7 separate regions of the Homo sapiens genome follow, and all the other regions are linked to region 1. The links are contacts of gene promoters, found by promoter capture Hi-C in blood cells and fetal thymus (Javierre and others, 2016). All regions are on one chromosome and are shown on one strand. Each heading gives the region's core, a stretch centred on a gene start or on the middle of the fragment in contact. The rest is flanking DNA. Distances are from core to core; before and after follow the strand shown. Region 1 holds the start of ACADM (acyl-CoA dehydrogenase medium chain). Region 2 overlaps ZZZ3 (zinc finger ZZ-type containing 3). Region 3 overlaps AK5 (adenylate kinase 5). Region 4 overlaps LRRIQ3 (leucine rich repeats and IQ motif containing 3). Region 5 overlaps LOC105378808 (a long non-coding RNA gene). Region 6 overlaps PIGK (phosphatidylinositol glycan anchor biosynthesis class K). Region 7 overlaps PIGK (phosphatidylinositol glycan anchor biosynthesis class K).

Evidence for each region. The method cuts DNA at HindIII sites, captures the fragments that hold promoters and counts their contacts. A CHiCAGO score of 5 or more calls a contact.
Region 2: a contact is called between a fragment that was not itself captured here and the fragment with the promoter of ACADM in region 1, in 4 of 17 cell types (total CD4 T cells, total B cells, naive B cells and 1 more). The highest score is 6.9, in total CD4 T cells.
Region 3: a contact is called between a fragment that was not itself captured here and the fragment with the promoter of ACADM in region 1, in 1 of 17 cell types (activated CD4 T cells). The highest score is 5.6, in activated CD4 T cells.
Region 4: a contact is called between a fragment that was not itself captured here and the fragment with the promoter of ACADM in region 1, in 1 of 17 cell types (M2 macrophages). The highest score is 6.7, in M2 macrophages.
Region 5: a contact is called between a fragment that was not itself captured here and the fragment with the promoter of ACADM in region 1, in 3 of 17 cell types (fetal thymus, activated CD4 T cells and non-activated CD4 T cells). The highest score is 8.6, in fetal thymus.
Region 6: a fragment that was not itself captured here is called in contact with the fragment with the promoter of ACADM in region 1 in 3 of 17 cell types (fetal thymus, M0 macrophages and monocytes); the score reaches 5.8 in fetal thymus.
Region 7: a fragment that was not itself captured here is called in contact with the fragment with the promoter of ACADM in region 1 in 1 of 17 cell types (activated CD4 T cells); the score reaches 5.1 in activated CD4 T cells.

What each region holds. Positions count from the first base shown.
Region 1 is chr1:75,723,082-75,726,509 of GRCh38, reverse strand. It overlaps ACADM (acyl-CoA dehydrogenase medium chain), which reads right to left and starts at 1,801. Exons shown (of 12, transcript NM_000016.6): 1 at 1,693-1,801. The coding sequence starts at 1,722. It also overlaps a transcript of SLC44A5 not described here. RefSeq lists enhancers at 1,586-1,675, 2,326-2,415 and silencers at 1,806-1,855, 1,906-1,955. The HindIII fragment of the contact is 3,396 bases long and covers 1,305-3,428 here.
Region 2 is chr1:77,663,066-77,666,493 of GRCh38, reverse strand. The region is part of intron 1 of ZZZ3 (zinc finger ZZ-type containing 3); the gene reads left to right. Among named protein-coding and RNA genes, the nearest start is that of ZZZ3, 18 kb to the left of the region's middle. The HindIII fragment of the contact is 7,724 bases long and covers 1-3,428 here.
Region 3 is chr1:77,533,559-77,536,986 of GRCh38, reverse strand. AK5 (adenylate kinase 5) reads right to left here. Exons shown (of 14, transcript NM_174858.3): 13 at 949-1,140. Among named protein-coding and RNA genes, the nearest start is that of ZZZ3, 150 kb to the left of the region's middle. The HindIII fragment of the contact is 3,479 bases long and covers 1-3,397 here.
Region 4 is chr1:74,187,813-74,191,240 of GRCh38, reverse strand. The region is part of intron 1 of LRRIQ3 (leucine rich repeats and IQ motif containing 3); the gene reads left to right. Among named protein-coding and RNA genes, the nearest start is that of LRRIQ3, 8.6 kb to the left of the region's middle. The HindIII fragment of the contact is 8,734 bases long and covers 1-3,428 here.
Region 5 is chr1:77,220,818-77,224,245 of GRCh38, reverse strand. It overlaps LOC105378808 (a long non-coding RNA gene), which reads right to left. Exons shown (of 3, transcript XR_001738109.2): 2 at 3,253-3,428. Among named protein-coding and RNA genes, the nearest start is that of PIGK, 3.1 kb to the right of the region's middle. The HindIII fragment of the contact is 4,293 bases long and covers 1-3,428 here.
Region 6 is chr1:77,204,405-77,207,832 of GRCh38, reverse strand. PIGK (phosphatidylinositol glycan anchor biosynthesis class K) reads left to right here. Exons shown (of 11, transcript NM_005482.3): 3 at 1,102-1,193. Among named protein-coding and RNA genes, the nearest start is that of PIGK, 13 kb to the left of the region's middle. The HindIII fragment of the contact is 1,009 bases long and covers 1,215-2,223 here.
Region 7 is chr1:77,163,867-77,167,294 of GRCh38, reverse strand. PIGK (phosphatidylinositol glycan anchor biosynthesis class K) reads left to right here. Exons shown (of 11, transcript NM_005482.3): 5 at 465-576; 6 at 3,353-3,428. Among named protein-coding and RNA genes, the nearest start is that of PIGK, 54 kb to the left of the region's middle. The HindIII fragment of the contact is 760 bases long and covers 1,235-1,994 here.

The DNA.
Region 1 (3,428 bases), core at 552-3,051:
AGGTTCCATAACAAAGGAAAACATTCCACAAAAATCAGAACAAAAAACCTGACTCTATTATAAATGCGTTTTTAAATACCATGCACAAAAGTCAGAACTCAAACCAGGTTAAATGGTCTACTGAGGGACTTTTTTTTTTTTTTGACAGAGTCTCCCTCTGTCACCCAGGCTAGAGTGCGGTGGAGAGATCTCCGCTCACTGCAGACTCAGCCTCCTGGGATTACAGGCATATGCTACCATGCCCAGCTAATTTTTCCTATTTTTAGTAAAGACAGGGTTTCCCTGCTTTGGCCAGGCTGGTCTCGAACTCCTGGCCTTAAGTGATCAACCCGCCGAGGCCTCCCAAGGTGCTAGGATCACAACCGTGAGCCGCCGCACCTGGCCAACCGAGGGAATTTAAATAGGGAAAAAGTCACTTCACATGTGACTGTTCAGGAAAATATGTTACATAGAACAAAGTGCAAAGGTTGCTATTACCAGAATACAATGCCCATCAACCTGTTAATTACATAACAAAGTTAGCCAGTTAATTAGAGAGGTGGTTTGCAAATAGAAAACAGAAACAGCACGGGATCTGGAGTTATAATTGCTGAATGTGAATCTAGGTTCCACAACCATATTTGTGGCCGTAGACAGGTTTACAAACTGCTTATAGCTTCCGTTCAAAACCAAAAAATGGGACTAATCTCACTGCGTATTTTCGGACGATTAAAGTACGATAATGTTTTGAAAGCCTAATGCTATATAACTATTGGTTTTATTACTTCGGGCTCTCTGTCTAGAACAATGAAATTCCAAATATCGAAACAGCACCACTAGAATTGAACACTTTTGTGCATTTCTTGGGAATATAAGAGTGTCAGTTTTATGGGTTAAAGAAGAGAAAAAGGGTGTAAGTTTTCTATATCAGGTTTTTTTTAGATCCTTCCTTGGAGGTTGAGAAATCTGCTTTTCTGGTGTAGGAGTTAAAAATAGCTGAAATCTCCCAATTTCTGCCTTCACTGCACATTAACTTGCATAACACCAGCAAAACATGGGCAGCAATTCTTTAGGATTATTCTAAAACCGCAGCTTTTTTGGTCCAAGACATAACTTTAACTTAATTTTAAGTGACATCTAAATGGCAGTGGTGTGAACATATCAAGAATATTTAAGATACCAAAATTCATCTAGTGACAAACTTATTTAGAATCTATTAAGATCCAATACTAGAATATACACACAAGTTCACATAAAATTCTGCAGGTTTTTTTTTTACTTTTTTTTTTCCCGTAAGCAACGTGGAAACGTTACAACGAAAAGCTTATTAAACATTAAGTATTTCAAGGAGTAGCTGCTCCATTTTTCTTTTTCCCGTGGTTCTGACACAGAGACGGGGTCACTTTGGAAAAAGGTGGGATTCCCGCGGTAAATATTTGGAGGGTTTACCAGAGAAAGAAAAACGATATTCTAAAGAGAGGATGCCGGCTATAACGGGGTCGCCTGACGGGAGGATACGGAAAATGAAACGCTAGGCTACGTTCCGTCCGGTGGTAGGAGGCGTGAAAGCAGGTTGGGGGCCCCTAGGCTGGCTCCTTCCTCAGCCCGACTTCCCACTCCTCCCGGCCGCACCTATTTTTGGCCCAGGGCCCCCTGCTCCGACACCACAATACCCATGTTCCAGCCCCACCGCACCGCTGGGCTCCCTCTCACCCTGCAGCATCGCCCGAACCCCGCTGCCATGTTGGCTCCCGTTCCGGCCACTCGGACAATAATACACGGGTCACGGCCTTGACATACTCCCCGAACGCGGGACTCCTCTGGTCCCGCCCACTGGAGCCCGTGGGCGGGATGGGGCGGGGCGGGAAGAGGCGGTTGGGCTGCGGAAGGACGGGGCGCTGCGCTAGGCGGGGTGGCAGCGGTCCCCGGCGCCGGGTAGCCAACGCATGCTCCGTGACCCTTGCGTGCGCCGTCGCTGCGACCTGGGGAGGGGTCGCATCCCCTCTCCGGGCAATCTCTGATAGTCCTGGTTTGGTTTTCTGCGTTTCCACCTCTGGCCCTCTCTGTGGGACGCCGAGGCTGACCGCAGCGCGGAAAGAGAGCCAGGGCGGGGGAGGGGGACGGCGGCGGGGCTGGGAGGGCCCGGTTGCGCTGAACGGTGGGGGGACTTGCGGCGCGGTGCAGGACGGGAACCTGGGTTAGAGGGCGTGGCTGGGGCCTGGAGGGAGAGCGGCCCCCGTGGTCAGCCTTCACCTTTACCCGGAGAGAACGGTCAAACCCAGATCGTGTCTGCTTGGCGGATTCAAAGTATTAGTACATTTTGCTCTCAAATGCCCTACCTAAAGCGAAAGCATACTTGTGTTTCCTTAAAATTTAAAAGAGAATTTAATTGTTTAGGTAAATTTGACCTTTCCGCGTATTCCCAAGGCTGTTTATGACTTGTCCGCTGATGTGGTGTCCTTGGATATGCGGGTGCAATCCGAGGCTGTCCAAAGCTCCTGGTTCAGCGAATGATGGAAGTGAATGTCTCCCTGAGGAATTCTACCTGGAGTCACTTTCTCTTCCAGTGAGACCCTGAGTTTTGAGATGGTAGCTTATACTAAATCTTATACTAACTTAACATTTTCTTTTGCCCAATAAAGGTCACCCATAAATTCATCTAATTTAGCTGTTAAAATTCTATATCCTGTTATTGTATTCCCCTACTTTGTCTTCTGGGAATTTATAGTGTGTTAGTCCTAGGTACAAGGCAGAATGTTAATTAAGCGCTATATTCAAAGTGAAAGTACCAGGAAAATTCGGAAAAGGGATAAAGAGCTGAGTTTGTCCTGGTATAGGCAAGAAAGCCTTCAAAGTGGTGGTGGTAAGTAAAACACAAAGCGGACTCTTAAAGATGATTAGGAATTGTCTATTCATGTCTCCTTTGTTCCAATTTCTTATTCTGAACATTTTAAACACAGAAAAGATGAACGAAAAGCACAAAATCACCCATATGCCTATTGTAACCCCTTCTTACTGTACACGTGGCTGGCAGAGAAGCGAAGATGGAGCCCTCATCTTAAACATGTCTAGTCGGTAGTTCCTGCCACCATTCACCCAAGCAAGCTACCCCCTTGTTTGTCTGTGCCTGCAGCTCGACTTCACAGGCTGCTCTTAGAAAAGGATTTGGGGCTGCTTTTCATTAAAAAGAAAAGCCTTACTGATGTTGGGAACGGGCGCTCAGTGTTGCAAAAATCAACACTGAGACAAAGGAGCTCTTAGCAAGGCTAGTTTACTTTCTGCAGAAAGGTTGCCGCTCGCTAGTAGTCTTGCCACGAGAGCACACACGCATAAAGGAGACAGGGTCATTTATAACCTGACACGTGCACCCTACTACCGTGTCCGGTTTCCATTGGCTGGAAGGGGACCTCTGTACTTGTCCTGATTGGCTAGCAACTTAGAACTTTCCA
Region 2 (3,428 bases), core at 551-3,050, 1.9 Mb before region 1:
TGGCACGATCTTGGCTCACTGCAACCTCTACCTCCTGGGTTTAAGCGATCTTCCCACCTCTGCTTCCCAAGTAGCTGGAATTACAAGCGTGCACCACCACACCTGGCTAATTTTTGTATTATTAGTAGAGGCAGGGTTTCACTGTGTTGGTGAACAGGCTAGTCTTAAAACTCCTGACCTCAAGTGATCTGTCTGCCTTGGCCTCCCAAAGTGCTGGGATTACAGGCATAAGCCAACGTGCCAGAATGCATGAATTTATACTGTAAAGTGTTGGAACAAGGTTGTGAGCCCTAGGAACATTGCAGTGTGAATATTAGCTATTACCACTGCTACTGCTGCTTAACTTAATTACATTCCGTATATACGTTTGATATACTGTTTTAGTTTTAAGCACTATTCCTTGTGGAGTAAATTTCAACAAGTAGGATTTTCCCAAATACTTTATTTATTTTTGAGATGGAGTCTCGCTGTCTCTCCCAGGCTGGAGTGTACTGGCGCAATCTCGGCTCACGGCACCCTCCGCCTTCTGGGTTCAAGCGATTCTCCTGCCTCAGCCTCTTGAGTAGCGGAGATTACAGGCGTGTGCCACCACGCCTGGCTGATTTTTTTATCTTAGTGGAGACTGGGTTTTGCCATGTTGGCCAGGCTGGTCTTGAACTCTGACGTCAGGTGATCCGCCCGCCTCGGCCTCCCAAAGTGCTGGGATTACAGGTATGAGCCACCACACCTGGCTTCCCAAATACTTTAAAACTTTAAAATTTTATATTTTCTCTAGCTTTATTGAGTTATAATTGGTAAATATAAAAATTTTAAATTTAATGAATGAGACAGTGAATCACAAATTTTCTTAAACATTCCAGTATTCTTATTAACCAAGCTAAATATTCATACACTTTTAAACTTAAAATCATAAGCGTGAAGTCAGTTACTATTTTAAATTTAGAAACTATCATTGTCTATAGGAACTTAAAAATATTTAGGATAGTTTTAAACCACACAGTATTAGTATCATGAGTTTGATATACGTAATTTCAATATTCTAATTAATCATGGACGTTGGGCAGTCACTTACCTTCGGGAACAGTTTTGCTGTCTTCAGCAAGTTGAGATTCCTGTGACATACTTTATGTCCACAGTTCAGTTACCATCTCTTGACAGGCTGTTTATCAGCTTGACATTGGCCTTGGAAGCTGTCTTTGTCTAGGTGGTTTTTCTCATGTCACAGATGGACATAATGAACTGTCAGTAAAAATTGTCTGTATGGTAACAGTGGAACTCTAAGTTGATGTTGGTTTCTTCTGAATTGAAGTTTAAGACCTTTTGTAATTGTTTTGTAATTGCTTTTTAACTCTATTGCCAGATCAAGTTTTGTAAACCTCACCCAGATTATTTCACCACTTGATTGGATTCCAGGAATCCATTTTCTGTCTGGCTGATAGCACAGGTTTTAGATCATTTAAAGACATTAAGGAACTGAGAGGTATTGATAGCTTTTGTTAATTTGTTGTAACAAAAAGTATGCCAGAAGACTAGAAACAGCATAAGGTCTTATTTTTAAAAAGGAAACCAGTAGTTTTGGAGATTGTTTTCCTAGGTATGCCTTGGAGAAGAGGCAGAGAAGTACAGGCTTAGCTCATCAGCATTAAGAACATTTCATTAATAGTGTAAAATAAACTTTCTTAAATACTGTTAGAAGGAATTAATGTCAGACTTTGAGAGAAGTATCTAAAAAGGTACTTTTTGTTGTCCATTTTTAATATTTTCATTAATGTTTTGAATAAATGTACAGTTGTGCTTATAAAATGTCAGAACAATTTAGCTGGCAAGGATAACTAAAACAACTTGTAAGTTCTGTCTGAAACTACAGGCAGAAACCTATAGTGTGAGCTGCTTAAAAGTGTGGAATTAAAAAAATATGGAATTCAGATAGAAAAAATTACATGAGTAAAATTTTGTTCAATTAATGTTAAGGCACTGTATGTACTAAGAGAATAAAAAATGTATTGCTCTATTCCTTCGAGGAGCCTATAATTGAATGGGGAATATAGATATATCAAACTATACATTGTAATTTTATGATAGGATTATTAAGCATTATGGGAGCAAAGGAGAGAGTAGTTAATTCTGATGGATCATTGAATTGGCCTTTGAGGAATAAGAGTTTTCTAGGAATTGAAGAGGGGAGAAAGTCATCTCCTTTCTTTCCCTCCCCATTCTTCTTTAAGGTACTGAAAAATCAGATTCAGGACAGTGTTTATTAAGACAGATATATTTGTGGGCAAATAAAGAGTAAATTGGAATGAGAGATTAATTAGGCTACTACAGTTGTTTAAATAGAATGATGATGGCCTGAGCTGGAGCAATAACAATAGAACAGAAAGAGTAGATAGTTTGTTTTTTTTTTTTTCCAAGACATTTTGGTGATAGAATAAGTAGGGTTTATTAGCCGGGTGCCATGGCTCACACCTGTAATCCCAACATTTTGGGAGGCTGAGGCGGGCGGATCACCTGAGGTCAGGAATTCGAGACCAGCCTGACCAATATGATGAAACCCCGTCTCTACTAAAAATGCAAAAATTAGCCAGGCGTGGTGGCACGCACCTGTAATCCCAGCTACTCAGGAGGCTAAGGCAGGAGAATCGCTTGAACCCGGGAGGTGGAGGGTTGCGGTGAGCCAAGATCGCGCCATTGCACTCCAGCCTGGGCAACAAAAGCGAAACTCCGTCTCAAAAAAAAAAAAATAGGGTTTACTGATTGTATATTATTAGGAGTTTAGTTTTATATAGTCTCAGACATCCAACTGGTGAGTTGCTTAAAAAAGAAAAAACAAATGAAGTACCAGGCTGCAGTAATAGGATTTTGTCCATAATAAGGGATATGATATTCATTCCATGTTGGTTAGGACACATTTACAATGTTGGCCTTATTTCTGAAAGCTACACTTTAAGAAAAGTAAATGAAAAGATAGATATGTCAAGAGGAGGGTAACCCATGAGAACCTTTGAAGGAATTGAGAGTGCTTATTGTGGAGAAGGAAGACTTGACAGGAATGAGTGAAGGAGGGAAGGGGACAGTTGTTTTCAGGTAATGCAGGGCTGTAATGAGTTGTTCTACAGGGTAGAATTAGATCCAGGATACCACCAGACTTTTTTTTTCTGAGAACTAAGATATTCTCTTAACTGCAGTTACAGTGATCAAAATTAGGAAACTTAACATTAATACCATTATCTAATTTACAGTCCACAATCAAATTTTTTCAATTATCCTAATAATTATTTTTATAGCTTTTTAAAATCGAAGATCATACATTGCATTTGATTTCATGTCTCTCCAGTCTCCTTTAATCTGGAACAGTTAGTCAAATTTTTTTTTTTATTAATTTTTTTTTTGAGACCGGGTCTCACTGTGTTACCCAGCCTGGAGTGCAG
Region 3 (3,428 bases), core at 409-2,908, 1.8 Mb before region 1:
TGGGATGAGTGGAAGGATGAGGACTGGGCAGTTTTCCCAAATTCATAAAACTGATGGTGACTCAGCAGAGAGCTCATGATCACTAGGTTGATACACTCATTTCCTCACACTATCTTCATTGTTTTACTTAATTACCTGCTCTCCTGGCCCCATATGCAGCTTCTTCTAAAAATGTTGGTTATCACAAGAAATTGAGGCAAAGGAGCCAAGAGCCAATTGTGAACGATGTAAAATTATAGAAATTCAAAGTCATTGAATCTTAGCTCTAGTGAATAATCTCACAGTCCAGAGTCAGTGGCAGAGCCTACGTCTCATCTATGCCTCCCTCCCTCCCTGCCTTCTTCCCTTCCTCTCTCCCTCTCTCTCTTTTTTGGGAAAAAGGAGTTGTTTTCAGCAACTATAAGGGGATCTGTGAAAATTATATGACCACCTTTTTATGGTCTATATGACGACAGATATTTAATTTTGATTGAAATAGAAGTGAAGAGTAAGGGATTCATAATTTGGTCCAAATTCTTGTTGTTGTTTTCTTTGAGACAGGGTCTTGCTCTGTTGCCCAGGCTGGAGTGTAGTGGCACAATCTCAGCTCACTACAGCCTCCACCTCTGGGGCTCAAGCAATCCTCCCACGTCAGCCTCTTGAGTAGCTGGGATTATAGGCATGTGCCACCATACCCAGCTAATTTTTTGCAGAGGCAGGGGTCTCACTATGTTGCTTAGGCTGGTCTTGAACTCCTGGGCTCAAGCAATACACCCGCCTTGACTTCCCACAGTGTTGGGATTACAGGCATAAGCCACTGTGCTGGGCCTTTTGGCCCCAGTGCTGCAGCTGCACAGAGTTCTAATTCCCAGATCCCTTAACTAAAATGTTCTCAGCTTTTTCTCTTTTCTTGGAAAAAAAAAAAAAAGGTAAGCGGCTCATTTCAGAGGAGAAAGTGAAGTGACTCGCCTTGTGTAGCTGTGTTTTTGTCTCGTAGTAGGCGATCACGGGGATGGACGCTCGGTAGTAGGCTTCTAGGCGCTTGGCGATGGTCTTGGTGGTGTCGTCCACAGGCAGGCTGCTCCGGCTCCTTTGGAGAAGGCGGTTGGTCATGGTGTCTGCCGAGCAGTCCATACAGATCACCAACTGTGGGTCTCCAATCTGGAGATGGGAGTGGAGCACAACACAGTCAGAAACCTCACCCTGCTGATGTTCTGGAAAGGCCCAGGGCCTCTGGTTTTTCCTTTCTTGGCCTTCTGGTTCCCTTCAAGGTCCCAGCATTACACTATGGTGCAGCTGGGACTGGACTCCATAGCTCCCCCCTTCCAGGTCAGTTCCCTTCTACACACTGCCTCAGAGCTGTCTCTTGCCCTCAGCTTTTAGGCCACCTCACGTGATGCAGACGAGTATATGCCACCCACTGCAGCCACTGTCTGTCTTCTTCTGCACTGAGAAGAAAGGAGTATGTATGTGTGAGGGGGTGTTTCCTCTAATGTGAAGCCTTTCCTGACCACCTGAGGCACAGCTAATCACTTCTCCTTCAAGCCACCGTGATATAACAGCCACAGGTGGCATTCTGTGGCTGTGCCTGTACTGTGTCAGGTGAGTGGGGCATAATGCTTTAGCACACAGAGGCTGGAATCAGGCTGCTTAGGGTCAAACCCTGGTGTCATGACTTGTCTCCAGGATGGGCTTCATCAATTCGTTATCTCACTTTACTTGTAAGCTACTCTCCCACTGAGACACAGAAACACCTTGAATCTGACCTGTAACTATTTTGACCAACAGACTGTAGCGGAAATAATGTCCATGCTTTTAGAGTCTAGGTCACAAGAAAGTTTGCAGTTTCTGTCTGGTTTTGTGGAACACTTGCTGCAGTGGGGAGTCCGCTGCCATCTAAGATGTCCAACTATCCTGAGACTGCCAGGCTGAGAGGAAGCCCAAGTTAGCCATGTGGAGAGGCCATGTGGACGGAGATGCCCTACCAGCCCCCAACTGTTTTAGATATCCCAGCCCTGGCTCCAGACATGGATCTCAGCCCCAGCCACTGTCTGAGTGCAATTGCATAAGGAACCCCAAGTGAGAACCAGCCCGCTGAGCCCCATAACTTCCAGAACCACGAGAGATAATAACAAATTGTTCTTTAAAGTTTTTATTTTCTTTTCTTTTGTAAGAGATGGGGTCTCGCTCTGATGCCCAGGCTGGAGTGCAATGGCTATTCATGGCATAATTATAGTGCACTATACAGTCTTGAACTCCTGAACTCAAGTGATCCTCTTGCCTCAGCTTCCGGAGTAGCTGGGGCTACACACACATGCCACTGTGCCAGACTTACATATTGTTCATTTAAACTGACTTCCTCATTAACTAGAAGTCTGACTCAACTTCTCTGCATCTGAGTCTTCTCATTCATACAATGAGGATGATCATAGGATTGCTGTGAGGATGAAATAAAATTAAATAAGGTAACATACGTATGCTCCTTGGCATACAGCAGACACTCACTAACGATTCACTGTTACGCTTATTTCCTCTATGAGGCTTAGGTTCCCCGTGTGCAGGGATTAAGAATTCTCTGCTCCTAGTCCCAAGTCTTGCACACAGTAGGTGATGAAGAAATGTTTTAATGAATGAGTGATGGTGGTATGATCTGTGTTATGAGTCTCCCCATCTCCATATCCTTCTCTTAAATGTTCTTTTGTCTCTGGGACATGCTTACTTTGCATCCTCCTCCAACCCTGGATCAGAGGAAACCATTACTCCCCCTGACCTTGCCACATTCGAGCTGTGAGTAAATGAAGGCTTGCCACCACTGTAGAAAGTGTGTGGGGTGGGATGAGAACAAAGTTCAGTCAAGAAGAGGATGTTTAGGCAACACGGAGAACTCGTAATATCGTGAGTTGCCAGACAGTGTTGGTCAAACATTTATCTACCTCCTCTGAGGGGTGTACTTTAAGGAACAGAGTGGAAACATTCTCCAAAATCGACAACAGTGCAATAAACCTCTGGAATAGGTCATGCGACTTTTCTGTCTGTATTAATTGGAAGGAAAAAAAAAAAGAGCATTTGTGCAGCAAGAAAGGCTGGGTGAGGGTTTAGGAAAAAAATGACCCTTGTTCACCAGCAGAGGGCGAGCTTGGGAGGCGGCTTAATGTTCTCCCTGAAACAACTTTGGGTTAGGGTTGCATGAGACAGCCAGGCGATTTTTCCAATTGTGGGGTTATTTTCAGGCCATTTGTGGGGACAGGAAAGATAATTCAGGGACACAGGTACAAACAGAGATTATATGTCACTGAGCAGGAGCCGGCAGCAAATGACCTTTTAGACCAAAATAAGCACGGGGCAGAGAGGTAGCTTTTTCTTCCACACTGATTCCCAAAGTGTGGCCCACGGACCAGCAGCATGTCATTTGGAAGCTTGTTAGAAATATAGACTCTCAGGCACAACAC
Region 4 (3,428 bases), core at 682-3,181, 1.5 Mb after region 1:
AACAGAATTTATTTCTTTTTCACTTTTAAAGAATAATTTTGCACCATACAGTGTCCTTGATATAGTTTTTGAAGCATATATTTTATCTCGAATTGTTAATGGAACTAGGCATTCAATTAATTTTGTAGAGCTTACTGTATTAGTCTGTTTTCATGCTGCTGATAAAGACACACTCAACACTGGGTAATTTATAAAGAAAAAGAGGTTTAGTGGACTCACAGTTCCATGTGGCTGGGGAGGCCTCAGCATCATGACAGAAGGTGGAAGGCATATCTTACATGGCGGCAGACAAGAGAGAATGAGAACCAAGTGAAAGGGGTTTCCCCTTATAAATTCTAGGTCAGTGAGTTTTTTTTCTCTTAACACTTCAAATATTTCACTCCACTATCTTCTGCCTGCATGGTTTCTGATAAATCAAATGTCGTTATTATCTGTGATCCTTTATAAGTAAGATTTTTTAAAAATTCTTTGGCTTTTTCCAAGATTTTTTTTTTACCTTTGATTTTCTGAAGTTTGTATATTAATTATCTAGGTGTGAGGTTGTTTTTTTTTTATTTTCTTACATTTATCCTACATGATGTTCTCTGTTTCTTGAATCTGTGGCTTAGTGTCCGATGTTAGAGTAAATTGTCATTCATTATTGTTTTAAATACTGCTTTTATTCCTTTCTATTTTTCCTTTTTTGGCATTTTTATTACACGTATGTTACACATTTAGAAGTCCCACACTTCTGGAATGTTATGTTTTTTTTCAGTCTTTTTTTTTCTCTTTGGTTTTTAGTTTTGAATGTTTTTGTTGACATATCCTCAAAGTCAGAGATTCTTTTATCAGTCATGTCCCATCTACTAATGAGCCCTTCAAAGGTATTCTTCATTTCTGTTATAATGTTTTTGGTCTCTACCATTTCTTTTTTATTCTTTCTTAGAATATCTATCTCTCTACCTACATTATCCATTTGTTCTTGTATGTTGCCTACTTTTTCTATTAGAGCCATTAGCATATTAATCCTAGTTGTTTTCAATTCCCAGTCTGATATTTCCAACATCCCTGACATCTGTGTGTCTGTTCCTGATGAGTTTCTGTACTGCCTGTCTGTTGCTCCAATTTTGTGGTCAGCAGTTTACCCTATGACCTTACTTTGTGTAGCTAAGAAAAGTTGTTGATTTTTAGTTTGTTCAGCTTTCTAATGTGTTGTTAGGATGGAGTGACTACTCCAAGCTCCTTACATGCCATACTGGAAACTGCAGGTCCCTTGATACACTTTTTGAAGCATATATTTTATCTTGAATTGTTAATGGAACTAGGCATTCAATTAATTTTGTAGTGCTTACTGTATTAGTCTGTTTTCATGCTGCTGATAAAGACACACTCAACACCGGGTAATTTATAAAGAAAAAGAGGCTCAGTGGACTCACAGTTCCATGTGGCTGGGGAGGCCTCAGAATCGTGGTAGAAGGTGGAAGTCACATCTTACATGGCAGCAGACAAGAGAGAATGAGAACAAAGAAAAAGGGGTTTCCCCTTATAAAACCATCAGCTCTCATGAGACTTATTCACTACCACAAGAACGGTATGGAGAAAACTGCCACCATCATTCAATTATCTCCCACTGGGTCTCTCCCACAGCAAGTGGAAATTATGGGAGCTACAATTAAGATGAGATTTGGGTGGGGACACAGCCCAACCATATCATTAAGTGCCAAACACTGTTCTAAACCCTTTAGGTTGACTTATTTCGTCCTCATAAAAATTCTATGGGCTGTTATTATTATCTTCTTTTTACAGATAAGGAAACTGAGGCACAGCATACATAATTTACTTGAGATCACCAATCTCAGAACAACTTACATTTCATTTCCTTTTTCTGTACTTAGTTTATAGGGTGCTTGAAAAATAAAATGAACTTGTCGTAACCAGTAGAATGTGGCTGAGGAGACGCTTCAGTTGAACCTAAGCCTTAGGAAGTTTGGACAGGTTCTGCTTTTATGCTTTGGGAGCCCTTAAGCATGTAGAAAGTCTGGCTACCCTATTTCAGACACACATGGATAGATGACATGGAGAGGACAGGTCAACATAGAGAGGTCCTGAGACAGTATGGAAAGAAAGACTGGTTCATCTCAGCATTCCAGCTGAACCTAACCTTCCAGCAGTTCACTGGAGGAGTGAACTAACTGATGCTTCAGCCACTGTCAGTTGGAGAACTGCTTACTTCAACTGAGTCAACACACAGAATCTTCAGAGTAACAAAATGATGGTTATTTTAAGCCAATAAATTTTGGAGTGATTTGTTACACTACATAAATAATTGAAAAATAAACCTTTTTTGTTGTTTTGCAAGTGATTATTGGCTGTGGAGAATTAAAAATAAAGGAATTTACAATAGATTTCTACCGAAATGGGAGAGACTTTGTCATTTGTACTTAGAAGTCTTTTACAGGTTCCTTCCCCATAGTTTGCTGTTTCTCTGAGGAAAGGAAAAGACAGACATGTGTATGAAAGAGACATTTATTGAAACCTGACTCAGTTCTAGTTCAGGTCCTATGGAAAAATTTGAAAAACTACCTAACCATAAAACAAGTTTTCTGTTCACAGGGTACATATAATTTAGTGGAAAACAGGGCCATTAAATAATAACATATATAAATATGTAATCACTAAATTGGGGATGTGTGGATAGAATCAGAGTCTAAATAATGACTAGACAATAATTTGCCAAAGAAGGTTACACTGAGAGAGAAGTGTAACATCCTAAGATAGCAGGTTAGCACATTTCATTAACTAAGAAGCCAGGGTTCTTAATAGTTTGGATTTTTTAAATTTTTGCTTTAAGTTCAGGGATAGATGTACAGGTTTGATACATAGGTAATCTTGTTTCAGGGTAATTTGTTGTACAATTGATTTAGTCACCCAGGTGTTAAGCCTAGTGCCCATTAGTTATTTTTCTTAATCCTCTCCCTCCTCCCACTCTCCTCCCTCTAGTAGGCCCCAGTGTGTTGTTCCCCTTTATGTGTCCATGTGTTTTCATAATTTAGCTTCCACATATAAGGGAGAAAATGCAGTATTTGGTTTTCTATCCCTGCATTTTTTTGCTGAGGATAATATCCTCCAGCTTTATCCATGTTCCTGTAAAGGACATGATCTCATTCTTTTTATGGTTGTATAGTATTCCATGGTGTAAATGTACCACATTTTCTTTATCCAGTCTACCATTTATGGGCATTTAGGTTGATTCCATGTGTTTGCTATTGTGAATAGTGGTGCAGTGAACATACGTATATGTGTCTTTATAATAGAACAATTTTTATTGCTTTAGGTATATACCCAGTAATGGGATTGCTGGGTCAAATGTTGTTTCTGTTTTTAGGTCTTTGGGAAATTGCCACACTGTCTTCCACAATGGTTGAACTAATTTACACTCCCACCAACAA
Region 5 (3,428 bases), core at 492-2,991, 1.5 Mb before region 1:
AAGGGGGACTCCTGTACCAAAATATATTCCAGATAGTTAAACGTAAAATTAACACAAAATAAAACTAGTAAAAAATAAATATTAGAAATGTGCCACCCGCAGATGTTTGCATCGCTAGTTCTTTCTTGTCATTCAGGTCTCAGATTTCACACCACCTTTGCAGAGAGGTTTTCACTGACCACCTCACTGAAGTAGTGTCTCCCTCTCCCTTCAGTTTCTGTCATCTTACCTTATTTGTATCACCATGAGAATTTATTGTATTCATTTTTCTTTTTTCTTATTGTCTGTTTTCCTTACTGGAATGTAAGGTTCGTGAGAGCAAGAACCTCCTATGTATTTCCAGCTACAATATCCTGGTATGTTATGTCAACTAAAGAAAAAAAAACAGGCTTTTAAATAATTAAAGTTAATTTTATTCAGAAGTCCTACTGAGTACTGCAACCTGGGAGAATCTTTCAAAGAGTTTGTTATATTGCTGCAAAGCATTGATTCACCCCATAGCTTAAACATAGGTGGTGGTTGCTCTGCATGTGTTAAGAAGTTACATCAAATGTGCTCAGAAATTACATTAATGACATGGTTTGGCTGTGTCCCCACTCAAATCTCATCTTGAATTGTAGCTCCCATAATCCCCATGTGTCAATGGTAGGACCCGGTGGGAAGTAATTTAATCATGGGGGCAAGTTTTTCCCCTGCTGGTCTCATGATAGTGAATAAATCTCAGGAAATCTGATGGTTTCATAAAGGGCAGTTCCTCCGCACATGCTCTCTCTCTTGCCTTGCTGCCAGGTAAGATGTGTCTTTGCTCCTCCTTTGCCTTCTGTCACGATTGTGAGGCCTCCCCAGCCATGTGGAACTGTGAGTCCACTGAACCTCTTTTTCTTTATAAATTACCCAGTCTTGGCTATTTCTTCACAGTAGTATGAAAATGGACTAATACAGTAAATTGGAACTGAGGTAGTGGGGCTCTGCTATAAGGTTAACAGAAAATGTTGAAGCAACTTTGGAACAGGGTAACAGGCAGAGGTTGGAACAGTTTGGAGGGCTCAGAAGAAGACAGGAAAATGTGGGAAACTCTGGAACTTCCTAGAGACTTGGAGGGCTCAGAAGACAGAAAGATGTAGGAAAGTTTGGAACTTCCTAGAGACTTGTTGAATGGCTTTGATCAGAAGGCTAATAGGGATACGGACAAAGAAGTCCAGGCTGAGGTGGTCTCAGATGGAGATGAGGAACTTGTTGGGAAATGGAATAAAGGTCACTCTTGCTATGCTTTAGCAAAGAGACTGGTGGCATTTTGCCCCTGCCCTAGTTATCTGTGGAACTTTGAACTTTAGAGAGATGATTTAGGGTACCTGAGGGAAGAAATTTCTAAGTGGCAAAGCGTTCAAGAGGAAGCAGAGCATAAAAGGAAAACTTGCAGCCTGATGACGTGATAGAAAAGAAAAACCCATTTTTTGCGGAGAAATTCAAGCCTGCTGCAGAAATTTGCATAAGTAACAAGAAGCCACATGTTAATTACCACGACAATGGGAAAAATGTCTCCAGGGCATGTAAGAGGTCTTCCTGGAAGTCCCTCTCATCACAAGCCAGGAGGCCAAGGAGGAAAAATGGGTTTATGGGCTGGGCCCAGGGCCTTGCTGCTTTGTGCAGTCTCAGGCTGCTCACATGTGATATTGGGACTGTGGGTGCACGGAAGTCAAGAATTGAGGTTTGGGAACCCTGCCTAGATTTCAGAGGATGTATGGAAACACCCGGATGTTCAGGCAGAGGTGTGCTGCAGGGGCAGGGCCCTCATGCACGACCTCTGCTAAGGCAGAAGGGCAATGCAGAAGGGAAATGTGGGGTGGGATCCCCCACACAGAGTCCCCACTGGGGCAGTGCCTAGTGGAGCTGTGAGAAGAGGGCCACCATCCTCCAGACCCCAGGATGGTAGATCCACCAACAGCTTGCAGCATATGCCTGGGAAAGCCAGAGACACTCAATGCCAGCCTGTTAAAGCAGCTGGGAAGGAGGCTGTATCTTGCAAAGCCACAGGGGCAGAGCTGCCCAAGACCATGGCAACCTACCTCTTGTATCAACGTGAACTGGATGTGAGACACGGAGTCAAAGCAGATCATTTTGGAGCTTTAAGATTTGACTGCCCTGCTGGATTTTGGACTTGCATGGGCCCTGTAGTCCCTTCATTTTGGCCTATTTCTCCCATTTGGAATGGGTGTATTTACCCAATGCTTGTACCCCCATTGTATTTAGGAAGTAACTTAACTTGCTTATGATTTTACAAGCTCATAGGCAGAAGGGACTTGCCTTGTCTCAGATGAGACTTTGGACTGTAGACTTTTGAGTTAATGCTGAAATGAGTTAAGACTTTGGGGGACTGCTGGTAAGGCATGATTGCTTTTGAAATGTGAGGACAGGAGATTTTGGAGGGGCCAGGGTGGAATGATATGGTTTGGCTGTGTCCCAACCCAAATCTCATCTTGAATTGTAGCTCCCATAATCCCCAAGTGTCAAGGGAGGGACCTGATGGGAAGTAATTTAATTATGGGATCAGTTACCCTCATGTTGTCATGGTAGTGAGTTCTCACGAGCTCTGATGGTTTTATTTATCTATCTATTTATTTATTTTTATTTTATTTCATTTTATTTTTTGAGACAAAGTCTGGCTCTGTTGCCCAGGCTGGAGTACAGTAGCGTGATCTTGGCTCACTGCAACCTCTGCCTCCCAGGTTCAAGCGATTCTCCTGCCTCAGCCTCCCTAGTAGCTGGTATTACAGGCATGTGCCCCCACACTGAGCTAATTTTGAAACATGGGGTTTTGCCATGTTGGCCAGGCTGGTCTTGAATGCCTGACCTCAGATGATCTGCCTGCCTCGGCCTCCCAAAGTGCTAGGATTACAGGTGTGAGCCACTGCACCTGGCCTCTGATGGTTTTATAAAGGGTAGTTCCTCTGCACATGCTCTCTCACCTGCTGCCATGTAAGATGTGCCTTTGCTCCTTCTTCATCTTCTACCATGATTGTGAGGCTTCCCCAGCCATGTGGAACTGTGAGTCCACTAAGCCTTTTTCTTTAGAAATTATGCAGTCTTGGGTATTTCTTCATAGCAGTATGAAAATGGGTTAATACAAGTAAAGTCTCATCAAAGTGTGGGTATGAAGTTACATCTGGTCATGAATTTGAGGCATAATCATTAATCTTGTCAGACATTATCTTATGTACAGGAAGAGGCAAGGGCTAGGATCACCAAACTTACCTTTTGTAAAAATTCAGTGATTCAGGCAAGAGATGTGCAAACCTATTCCCTATCCTGCTTATGGTCTTCAAGGCATTCTTCCACAAGGCTGCTCACAGTCAATGAGTCAGGGGCTTTGTGAAATATTGCTGGCAAAGGAGCAGAATGAGCAAATGGCTTCTTATCTTTGCTACTTT
Region 6 (3,428 bases), core at 470-2,969, 1.5 Mb before region 1:
CCATGTAGTTCCTTTCTGTTTGTCAGGGGCAAGAACACTTATGCTGTTCTCAAAATTGTCATTATACCTACTAAAGGCACAGGCATGTGATAGAAGCCGGGATTGTACTTGGTAGATATATTACCAAGTGACCCCAATCTATATTTACCTACCTTAGAATGGGTTCTGAACAACACTAACTTTTGAGGCATGGAATTAGATTTTCCTAGCACCTTTAATATAATTCTCAGGAATTTTTTTAAACTATAAAACTTGGTTGGATTGTTTCTAATTTTCTCTTGAGTTCAATAGCTTCTTTATAATGCACTCTCTTATGTACATTTACAACTGTTTTATATGTTATGTTTTATCCTGTGTCCTACGTTTCTCACAATAAAGGAAGCAATGTGGAATGAAACAAATATTGTATAACCCTATGTAGCTAATTTTCTTCTCTATTCTGTGAAGAAATTATGGGCATTGTCTTTGATTCTAAAGAATTTAATTTTTTAGAAATAGGAATGTTACTGAGTCACAGAAATTGTGATAACTAAGTTGGTTCAGTATTTGATTTAATTTCCCAAAGATATGCTTTCTCTTAAGCTGAATGGTTTTTTAAAATCTAATACTAGTTATGAAAGACTTCTCTTTGGAGCGATTAGTTTTACTGACAATTCTTTTTTTGTTGAGACAGAGTCTTGCTCTGTCGACAAGGCTGGAGTGCAGTGGTGCCATCTCCACTCCCTGCAACCTCCACCTCCCAGGTTTAAGCGATTCTCATGCCTCAGCCTCCCAAGTAGCTGCAACTACAGGTGCACGCCACCACACCTGGGTAATTTTTGTATTTTTAGTAGAGGTGGGGTTTTGCCATGTTGGCCAGGCTGGTCTCGAACTCCTGGACCCAAGTGATCTTCCCGCCTGGGCTTCCCAAAGTGTTGGTATTACAGGCATGAGCCACTGTGCCTGGCCTTTACTGACAATTTTTTGTGTTTGCTGTTTTAAAGCCTGAATTATGGCATACTGTTTCTTAGAGATCTCTGTATCCTACTTAAAGAAAAATACTCTGCAGCTCCATGGTTAGCCTTGATGCATAAAAATTCTGTTTTTGTTTTAATACTTCAGGTGTGTACATCCCGATTCTGGTTTAATTATCGACATGTTGCAAATACCCTTTCTGTTTATAGAAGTGTCAAGAGGCTAGGTATTCCTGACAGGTAAGAAGCCTTAATAAAGCTTAACCTTGAACTTCAGTGAAAATAACCCTTAGATAATTGTTATTATATTTGTATTTTGTGTTACTTTTGAAAAAGGTAAAAAAAAAAATCTGATTTGAAGATTTTTTGTTCTCATTAGAGCATACTACCATGTATAAATTAGATGTTACTTAAGACCATAATGACAAATTATATAAAAGAACAAATGCTAAGGTAAAAAGATTGGATAAAATATAATTATTTAGTGTAATGTATTTAATTAGTAAATGGCTCAGTCAGGGTTTTTAATTGCAGATAATGGAGTGCAATTCTGATTGATTCAAGTGGAAAAGGGATTTATTGAAAGCATATTGATTACCTTGCCAAATTAGTGAGAAGGTTGTATCCTTTAATAGCCAGGAACAAGGAAGCCTAGATATTAGAAGAGACATAGCAAAAAAATGACCTAAAACAGTCTGGTGACAATAATGGAGCTGCAAATTGCTGAAGCCTAGACTCAGCTACTGCATAGCTGCTACTGTTTGTTTCCTTTTGAAACTTAATGTTGCTATTGCCTCCTGCTGCCAAAATTTGAACTTTGCTGTCCCAACTTCTTACTGTCTCTCTTATAGAGGTCTTGGTGGGAATGTTATATTGGTAAAGTCTAGGTTCAGCACCCATGTCTGTGCTGCAGGGTGACTGGAAGAGCTAGTATATGGCATTATTAGCCTCTATATAGGAAGGTGGGCTTTGCTTTATATGAAGACTCGTAAAGTGGGAATTTTCCTACTTGTAGGGAGTGAGTTTAGGTAATAGGCGGTATCCCCACACCTTCACTCAGAGCATGTCTTCTACATTGTTTTGTCCATGATAGATTTGTTTTTCCTACTACCAAAGCAGCTATAGCAAGAAACTGTAGTCAATTCAGTTATTTAGGTTTGATTTATTTAGTACCAGTGAGTCAGTGTGGAAAGAGCCTTGTAGTTAGATATGACTTTGAAATCTGGCTTTAATGGTGATTTTTCTTTAAGTCACTTTACCATAATAAGCTTGTTTCTCATTTGTTACATGGTAATAATAGTACCTTCTTTCAGGATTCAAGTACTTCCAGTAAAAACAAATAAGAGTTATGCATAAAGTGCTGCAGGAACAGAAAGGAAGCAGTGAATGACTGAGGAAACAAAGTTATATTACAGTCTTTGTGAATAGATCATTTCAGTCTGAGTAACTGACAAAACTATAATTTCCATATTTCATCTGGAAATCATGGCAACTAGATAATATTACTATTTTAAAATTACATTAAGTCTGAGAAGGAGGTTGATTTGTTATATCAAGTGTATAGATATAATTCTTGTCATTTGTCAATTGGTTTTTCTCAAATAGGCCTATGTAGTTAGCTTTTGGTCTTTAACGGCTCTTGCGTCTATACTGGATATACTCTTCTAGAGAATCACTATGCATGGCTTGGCAATAGTTTTTCTTTGGTAAATTAATCTTTCTTCTATGAGTCAATCATTAAGATATATTTAAATGATTTAAGTTAGATTTGGAAGGAGTTTTTAGGAATAGACAATAGCAATAGGATGTATTTTGTATATTATGTTTAGTAGGTTTGTCCTTAGGTTTCTGAAGAATGTTATTTAAAAGCTTATTTCTGTTTCAAATAATTGCTTATCTATAACTGTGTTTATGAAGTCTTTGTAGTGGGGTAATTAAGGATTTAAACAGTTGGTGATTTAAGCCATTTGTTATTTAATAAATAGAAATCAATAGAAAAGATTCTGCTCAGCTAGTATTGGGTAAATAAATAAATGTATGATTTGGAAATATTTTATCAGTTGTGCAAAGCAAACACAGTTTGTATTTTAAAAGTAAAATATTTATATCCCCTAAATTTTGTTAGTCTAGTGTTAGAATATCAGGGGAATCAGCCCCTGATATTTCAACGTAGGTTCTTTTCTATTTTTCCTAAGTGTCGGCCGGTCTGAGAAATAAAGGGAAAGAGTACAAAAGGGAGAAATTTTAAAGCTGGATGTCCAGGGGAGACATCACATGTCGGCAGGTTCTATGATTCCCCCTGAGCCGCAAAACCAGCAAGTTTTTATTATGGATTTCAAAAGGGAAGGGGTGTACGAATAGGGTGTGGGTCACAGAGATCACATGCTTCAAGGGCAATAAAATATCACATGGCAAATGGGGGCAGAGTGAGATCACAGGACCAGGGTGAAATTAGAATTGCTGATGAAGTTTCAT
Region 7 (3,428 bases), core at 365-2,864, 1.4 Mb before region 1:
AGTGCAGTGGTGAACTCCTGGGCTCAAATGAGCCTTCTGCCTCAGCCTTCTGAGTAGCTAGAACTACAGGAGCATGTTACCATACCTGGCTATTTTAAACATTTTTTGTGTGTGTGCATAGAAATGGGGTCTCACTATGTTGCTTAGGCTGATCTTGAACTCCTGCCCACAAGCAGTCCTCTTGCCTTGCCTCACAAAGTGCTGAGTTGATAGGCATGAGCCACCATGGCCTGCCTTCTTTGTTAGTTTTTAGTACTTTTAAAAATAGTAACAAAGTTACTTGGAGGTATATGTTTAAATGAATATATTTTAATTGAGTTATATAATTTTTGGGTGTTTTATTTTCAGTTGGTGCTGAGTAATATATGGAGAAAGAACAATGAACATTTTTGAAAGTAAAAAGTAATTTGTCAAGATTTCCCAGGTTTTATTTCATCTGATTTTTCTTGTTTTTTCCCCCTTAGGTAACTGTGGAGAATTTTTTACGGGTATTAACTGGGAGGATCCCACCTAGTACTCCTCGGTCAAAACGTCTTCTTTCTGATGACAGAAGCAATATTCTAATTTATATGACAGGTAATTTCATAATTTAGAGTTTTTATAGTAGAGTATATTGAAACTCTTTGAAAAGAAAGGCAAATGGAAAGAAATTTAAACACGTGAAATGATTTTTGGTTAAAATGGTTTCTCATGTAGTTATATTTTCCATAATGTAGAACTATTTGAGATGATATCTGAAAACAGTATAACATTTTGTGCTGTTCCTGATTTTCTTATCTCTATATTTTTTTACTATTGACTTGGTAAACTTAGCACCTTTTGCTTGGTATCCTGCTACAGCATCCTTCAGTTTTGTTCTCCTGCTAATCATCCTGTGAAAGTGTCTAATAGAAATTGCAAATCTGTCCCTCTTCTGCTTAAAACTTTATAATGGTTTTCCATCTCAAATTTTGCTGTACATGAAGATTACCAACTGTAGATACTTAGGCCTTATTTTAGAATTCTTACTTAATTTTCATCTGGGTTGGGATTCATGAAATTGCATTGTGGATATACTCCTCAGATATGAGATACAGTAGTCTTTTGATTATACTTTGAGGAATATTGGAGATAAAGTGTACCATAATATAATATAGTTATCATATGTATTACACATAATAATATATGTAATGATTTAGCTATATTATTTAGTTTGTCTTAGTTCTTAATACTTTTTCTAATTCTCTTCCAAGCTTGAATGTTCTGTCCTTCAAACATTTGTTTAAGCTCTTGCATTTGCTTATGACGTCTTTTCAGTCCACTTTGCCTGCTTGATTATTCCATATGGTTTTAGTTTTAGCTCAGGAGTCACTCCCTTCCATGACTTCCTTTCTAAGTCTAGGGTGACTGATGTTTCCAATTACCTGGGACAGTTGTAGTTTACACCTGTTGTCCCAGTGTTATTATTAATAGTTTCTGCTTTCTCCTTCAGAATTGGTATGAATAACACAGCTTACATTTTTCTTATCTAAAGATATTTCTCTTCTCCTTGGCTGGTCTGGACTTTCCTCTGTGCATGCCCATGTTAATTTTTAGTTTCTTTCATAGCATTTAACTTACTATTACTTTATTGTTTGGGTATCTGTTGCCTTCACTGTATTTTGAATTCCAAGATGTCATTGATTATATATTTCTTGCTTTTTTTTTTTTTTATCACCAGTTGCCTGTCTTGTAGTAGTATTCGGTAAATATGGATGTTAATCAAAAGATGTTCTATAAATTTTTTGGAGGGCATTCCATTCAACTGATGATAAAGCAGGTGCAGAATGATTCTTAGATATCACATGTCAACATAGTTAATGACCCCTACTTAGTGGCTTTTCTCTATCGTGTTGCATTTATTTATAACTTTCAAGGCTTAATTTATAAACTTTATAAATTAACTCAATAGAGTTAATGAAGCCAGGAAAAATTTTATTTTACTTTATCTGAAAATTACAAGGAATTTTCAAGCTTTTATGGCAAACAAGATGAAGTGCAGTTTTTTGTAGCTTAGCTTTATTTGATGTACTAAACTAAAGGATTTATTATTATTATTTTTTGTTTGTTTCCTGATTCTGTTGGAACTCTTTCAGGGTAACTGCAGGCTTGGAACAAATTCCAGTAGTTGAAGATAGGATTTGATAAACTATGGCCTGTGAACTGGCTGCCTGTTTTGGAAGTTTTATTGAAACACAGTTGCATCCATTTGGTTTACACAGTTTCTGTGACTGCTTCCATACTACCACAGCAGAGTTCAGTAGTTGTGCTAGAGACAATATGGCTCACAAGCCAAAAATATTTACTACCTGATCTTTTGTAGAAGGTTGCCAGGGTCTGTAAGAGAATAAAAACGTTGATAATTATGATAATATGATAATAATATTTATGGAGGCATAGTATACGTCAGGCAGTATTCTAAATCATTGTGGCTATTAACTCATTTCATTCTCACAGCAGTGCATTGACTTAGGTGCCGATATTCAAGGTTGCTGTATGTGGTTGTGTGGGTTGTATAGTGCACCCAAGAATCTGGCCAGGGTGTTAAGTGGGAACTGAAATCTCGTATGTGCTTACACTTACTAAGCGATCTGCCCTACCACAGGGTTGTATTCTAATGGAAGGGAGGGATACTTTTTTCTCCCACAAAGGCATAGTCAACTAACCACTTGTAAGCCTGCAGGGCTGCATGTATCCAAGAGGAAGGTGAGGAGACTAGTTTTTTTTTTCTACTTTCATGCCCAGTTGAAAGTACCTTTTAAAAACCTGTGCAAAGCAACTGTATAAGTAAGCTAATGATAGTGTTGCAGATACATTTCTCACTTTATGGCTGAGGAAACTGAAGCATAGAAATATTAAATTATTTTCCTAAACTAACATGGCATAGTTACCATTTGAATCCAGGCAACCTGCCTCTAGATTGCATACAAATAGCACAATCTTCTGCTCCACCTCTTGTAGTAAAAATGTGGGACTAGCTAATGTCTTCAGCTTCTTTCTCATCAAAAATGTTTGCCTGGTATTTGAAACATTTTGTGAATGGAAACTCATTTCTGATATAATAATGGAGCCAGTGGAAGAGCATAAATATAGGTTTCTGTAATTGAATATTAGAAACCCTATTAAAGATATTATATCTGCTATTTTATATAGTCTATCATTCTCTTTTTAATTGGCATAGTAGAAAATTCAATTTGTTTGTTTTCATAGTATACATTTTAGAGTATAAAATAACAAGCGATGTCAAAATGTAATGAATGAAGTAAATGTATATATCTAGATATATGCAGTTTGCATTAAAAAATCTATTGATCTTTTTTACTCTTTATACAAGGGCATGGTGGAAATGGTTTCTTAAAATTTCAAGATTCTGAAGAAATTACCAACATAGAACTCGCGGATGCTTTTGA